2 separate regions of the Homo sapiens genome follow, and region 2 is linked to region 1. Evidence: promoter capture Hi-C in 16 types of primary human blood cells and fetal thymus (Javierre and others, 2016). All regions are on one chromosome and are shown on one strand. Each heading gives the region's core, a stretch centred on a gene start or on the middle of the fragment in contact. The rest is flanking DNA. Distances are from core to core; before and after follow the strand shown.

Region 1 (2,997 bases), core at 429-2,928:
AAGTGAAGGCAGAATAAGTGGCTCCCCCACTCAGGGTCACCAGAAAAATCCTAACCCGTGAGAATCTTCCTACCCTGTTTTCTGATGTCTGAAGTCCCAGGGCACAAAATTTTCAACTTCAAGCTCTGATCCCAATTAAATGTAGACACTCTCAGAAAGGGTCACTATCTCTTAATGAAACTGCATTTTAGCCGGGCGCGGTGGCTCACGCCTGTAATCCCAGCACTTTGGGAGGCCGAGGCGGGCGGATCACAAGGTCAGAGATCCAGACCATCCTGGCTAACACGGTGAAACCCCGTCTCTACTAAAAACACAAAAATTAGCCGGGCGTGGTGGCGGGCGCCTGTAGTCCCAGCTACTCAGGAGGCTGAGGCAGGAGAATGGCGTGAACCTGGGAGGCGGAGCTTGCAGTGAACGGAGATCGCGCCACTGCACTCCAGCCTGGGCGACAGAGCGAGATACCGTCTCACAAAAAAAAAAAAAAAAAAAAAAAAAGTGCACTTTAGATGTTTTCCTGGTGGGGGGGGGGGGGAGTGGGATATAAGTAGCAGTGTTCCAAGTACCAAAACCTCCCTGAGTCATCTGTGAAAAGCCATTTGGCAATAATACTGAAAGCTTTTAAATGCTCACATTCTGACTTAGCAGTTTCACTCCTGTGAATATAACCTAAGGAAACTGATCTCAATACTGAAAGGACTTTATACACAAGAATGGGCTGGGCAGCAAAGTGCTGTAATCCCAGCACTTTGGGAGGCCGAGGCCGGGTCGAGGGAGAAGCACCTGAGGTCAGAAGTTCGAGACCAGCCTGGCCAACATGATGAAACCCCGTCTCTACTGAAAGTACAAAAATTAGGTGGGCGTGGTGGCAGATGCCCGTAATCTCAGCTACTCAGGAGGCTGAGGCAGGAGAATCTCTTGAACCTGGAAGGCGAAGGTTGCAGTGAGCTGAGATCGCGCCACTGCACTCCAGCCTGGGCGACAAGAGCGAGACATCGTCTCAAAAAACAAACAAACAAACAAACAAACAACCAAACAAAACAAAAAAGAATGAATAATTTATAATCGTGAAGCTTTGGAAGCCACTTGAATGTTGAACATTTGCGAGATGCTCAGAGAAGTGACAGCGTATCAACCCAATTTTTTAAAGTCCTGCCATTAAAAATTATAGGTAGGAAGCGTCAGTACTAACACGGTGAAAATGTTCATGTTACAAAGTGGAAAACAACCCTGGATTCAGTTTAGTATGTGCGTTTTACCACAGCTATGTAGAAACAAATCCATACACATGGAAATCGAATGAAGTGAAACGCATGCAAATGGTAATGATGCTGTGCTTGGAGGCAGAATTGGAAGCAGTGTTAAAGTTATTTATCATCATTCGTGTTTTTAAAATGCCGTGTGATGGCCGCAATACTTCTGTAACGAATGATGTTTAAGCACGGAGCCCTTCACTGGCCGACGCGCGGGTGGGAGATAGGAGCCGCGCCCAAGCTCAGGTGGCGGCTGCGGGCAGGGCCGCCTGGGGCCGCAGCCGGGCGCGCTCCCGGCGGGGACCCTCTGCTCTCCTTGCAGACGGAGGCCGCGCCGGGTTTGGAGGCATCCCACAGCCTCAGGCCGAGGACCCGCCGCGAAGCGCCGCCTCCGCGGGTTGACCCTCTGCAGCCGCCGTAGCGCAGAGACGAATCCGCGCTCCCCCAGGCTGTCGCGCGAGCTCCCCGGAAGCTCCCACCTGAGCGGCGCATCCTCAGGGCCTGGGCCTGGCCTCCTTGCCTGTGAGATGGCACTGTGACGGTGCCCACCTCGTGGGGTGTGTGAGGGCCGAGTGAAATCGTGCATTTGCGGTAAGAAAGTGCTTATCACGGTGCCCAGTCCTAATATGGGCTGCCAGCCTAAGTACAGAGTCCCAATCCCAGCCCAAAGGCCAGTTTCCAGGTGAACCCTTGTCGGGGAGACCACCAGACGGAACAGTCCCAGTCTACACTCCTGCACCGAGCAGGGGACAGTGTGGACCGCAGAGAGGTCCGAAGTCCCTTTAGAATAAGGATGGTGCTTCAGGGTTGTTAAAAGGATTAAATGAGATGATATCTAAAGGGATTAGCACAGTGGCTGGTGCTAAAATAAATCATTTTCTCTACTGCCACTGCTCTTACAACCAGACGCCTGGAACAGCCTGCTGGTTCGTCTCCTCATTTGTAAGCTGGAGTTAGTAGGTGTGTTGTGAAGGTTGAGAGAATATGCATAGGCAGAACCTGGCGTTTAATATTTGGGAAGTGGCAGCAATTCTTTCTTCATTAATCTACAAGCTGCACTGTGGTAGGCACATACCCTTAGCACCGATTCTTATAAGTGCAGGTAAGAGAGAGAGAAGATATATTGTGTAAGTCGAAGGAGCCAGCCGTGTCCAGGCCACCGCAAAACCTCGACAGTACTGTACCAGGGCCCTCTTCAGTGAATGAATCTCCTCTTTGGCCTGTTTGCTGTCTGTTTGCATTTGCTGCACCCATCAGTTCCCAAACCTGGTCTCTAAAGTCAGGAGCTCAAGGAAGCTTGTCCCAATCCTAGAAAACAAGTACAGCACACACCAACAGCAGCATCCCTAAAAGCCAGCCCTACTGGCAATGCGGGCCCTGCAACCCGTAGGTAAGTGGGACACTCTAAGCTTCTTGGAAACAGCTAACTCAGGGCCTGATTAGCTTACTCCCGCCTCCTGTCTTCAGGAAATCAGACTGTGTAAAATAAGAGAGAAAAGAAAATTGACATAAGTCTATTCCACTGTCTAATGAAATGTGTTTCACTTGTGTTTAAAGTGAATTGTGGGCTGGCGTGGTGGCTCATTTGCCTATAATCCCAACACTTTAGGAGGCCAAGGCAGGCAGATGGCTTGAGCTCAGAAGTTTGAAATCAGCCTGGCAACATGCAAAAACCCCATCTCTACAAAAAATATAAAAATTAGCAGGATGTGGTGGCGCATGCCTGTAGTCCCAGTTACTCTGGAGG
Region 2 (2,762 bases), core at 199-2,698, 51 kb after region 1:
TCAACAACTACCGAGGCATTGCAACAAAAAAAAAAAAAAAAAAAAAAGAAAATCAAATGGTAACAAAGAAGGGATCTGGACTGAAAAATATTCCACTGCCAGAGTCCCATCTTCATCCAACCAGCAGAGACACAGCTTCAGGCAGCCTTACAGCTCAGAAAGGGCAAGCCCAAAGCTGGGAAGAGGTGGCGGGAGGTAACTGGCATCTAACCCTTCCTGCTCTCCAGGGGGCACAACCACAAGCACTAAGGAAATAAGTGCCATCATCGTGGTGGATAGATTTGCTATTCTTGGCCTTAAACTCTTCCATGGAAAAACAATTGAGAGAGTTCTTTGGAAGTTGGTCCTACTGGGAATAATACTCTTCCATAGATGCCTTTGCATTAAAGCTGGGTTTCAGAGACTGTGCAGATTTTTGTTTCAGTAAAAAGCTACCTTAAGAGGAGAGAATACAAAACCATCAAAAAGTGGTTTGGTTCATTTATAAGAATGGAAGTTTTTGCAACAGCAGAAGTAACCAAAAAGTAGGTCAGGTGCAAAAATAGTAACCAGCTCAATTCATTTTTAACAGCTTATGTTTTACTCTGGAGGCTTCCATTTTGGCGATGGTGACCTCTACATGTGGACTCTTACAAATAAGCCCCTAAGAAGGGTTCCCCCTTTTTTCCCCCTCTTATAAAGAGCATACTCCAATCCTTAACTCTGGTAGTGTATAGTATTTAACAGAAGTAAGAACTAGTTCATGCAAAAAATCAGAATAAACATTATTGAATATCTACTCTGAGCCTAGCACAGTGCTTGTTGCTGTTGTATAAAGATAACTAAGACACATTCTCTACCCTCAAATAGCTCACCATCTGGCATAAAAAAAAGACATGCAAAGAGATATTAGTAACACAGTGAGAGGTGCTGCATATATGCAGGCCTTCATGGGGGCATGAAGGAGGAAGTGGCCAGCTCTGTCTGCAGAGTGGGAAAGGCTTCCCTGGCTGGGATTGTGAAAGATGGTTAGGAGTTCACGGAATGGCAGCATGTTAGGCAGGACCAGGAGGATGCAAGCAAAAGTAGCACATGGGTAAGGTCTTCAGGACAGAAACAAACTGAGTGTTGGAGGACTGGCCAGAAGATTAAAATGGCGAGAGCCTAGGTTGTGAGAGGAATGGCGGCAGGAAGTAAGCTTGGAGAGGTGAGCAGAGTCCAGATTGTGGAGGACTTGGATGCCATCAAAGGGCTTGGACTTTATCCTATGGGCCATAGGGAGACACTGTGGGGTTCTAAGCAGGGGCAGGGCATGATCAGATTTGTGCTTTGGAAAGATTTCTCCAGTAGATATGCCTTCATAGCCAGCACATTTATGAAAGCTTCTCTGATCACATTATTGAATTCAGAATCTCAAGATACCTATATCTCCTTGTATATTTTTGTCATAGTATGCTAATTTTATTTTCTTCCTTTTCTTGTGCACACACAGGCAGCATGCCTTAACTCCCATTACCATCCCTATTATCTACTACTTCTCTTGAACAGAAGCTTTTGAATTGCTGGATATGATGAAAAACTGGAATTAGGACATAATTTTAACAATTGGTCAACATACAACTCCCTAGCCCTCAGAAGATAGTTCAATTTGCGGGGATGGCTCAGGCATTTTATCTGATTTCCTAGTGTTTTTTGCTAAGGTGAATTCCAAATAGGCCAAGGACTTTGTTGGTTTCCAGTTCTCTCAGAGTCCAGTGCTTGATGCAACTCCACTGACTAAAGAAATGTTAAGCTGCCTGGTAAGCAATCTCACATTTGAAGACCGAAATTATAGAAGATAAAGAAAAGAAGGAAGAAACCAAGTTAATGAAAAATTTAGCTTCAATTGTCCAAATACTGAGGTGAGAGGGTCACTTGAGACCAATGATTCAAGACCAGCCTGAGTGATATAGTGGGACCTACCTCAAAAAAAAAAAAAAAAAAAAAAAAAAAAAAGTTGTCCAAATAGCTCAAGTTAAAGATGTCCCTGCCTAACACATCTCAGCTTTTTGCTTTTTTGACAAGTCCCTGTTAACATTTGACGTCTGGTCATGGACACAGTGTTAAGAGTTAACAGTGGAGACAGAGATGGTGGTGGTGGTAATGAAAGTGATGGTAGGAGGTAATGGGATGGTGGTGATGGAGGTGGTGGACCCAAAATAGCTGATCACATGACAGGATTCTAACCAAATACCTTCTTCAAACAATGTATGTAAGCATGAAGCTTTTTATCTAGAAAAACTATCTAACTTAGTAACTCTACCAGTGGGCTGCTATGAGAAACAATTGACATGATATACTTAAAGCACTAGAACATTGCCTGCCATGTAGTAACTGTTCAAAGAGGGTAAGCAATTATCTCGTCTTGATTCCAAATTCCTACTTAGCCTGGGAGATATAAGGTCCAAGGAAGAATGAAGGCAGCTACAAAATTTGTCTACAGGAGGAGAGAATGAGAACAGAATTTACTTTATGCTGGCTCACCTTTTCCCACGTCAATCTCCTTTATCCAACAAAGAACCAGTCTACTGAGACACAGCCAGCCAAGTGCACCCAGTTGGGTGGTAGAGGTCAGTCAGCACTCCACCTGTCTGAACTGGTCTGGTTATTACCAAACTTCAGGCGAGGACCAGGAAAATAAGTCCACTAAAACGTCAGAGCCGTAGCCCAGCTGATTGATTTTCACCTTCAGAATAAGAAGCCTGAATATCCAGGATCTAGACTGCACGGGCTTCCTCAGGAGA

The links. Contacts are between HindIII fragments. The CHiCAGO score rates a contact against its expected background, and 5 or more counts as called.
Region 2: a fragment that was not itself captured here is called in contact with the fragment with the promoter of ATP1A1-AS1 in region 1 in 3 of 17 cell types (total CD8 T cells, naive B cells and total B cells); the score reaches 5.4 in total CD8 T cells.

Annotation. Positions count from the first base shown.
Region 1 is chr1:116,417,303-116,420,299 of GRCh38, reverse strand. ATP1A1-AS1 (ATP1A1 antisense RNA 1) reads left to right here and starts at 1,678. Exons shown (of 3, transcript NR_027646.1): 1 at 1,678-1,841. RefSeq lists a silencer at 1,470-1,599 and an enhancer at 1,559-1,853. The HindIII fragment of the contact is 1,476 bases long and covers 1,073-2,548 here.
Region 2 is chr1:116,365,919-116,368,680 of GRCh38, reverse strand. No RefSeq gene overlaps it. Among named protein-coding and RNA genes, the nearest start is that of ATP1A1, 5.9 kb to the left of the region's middle. The HindIII fragment of the contact is 169 bases long and covers 1,364-1,532 here.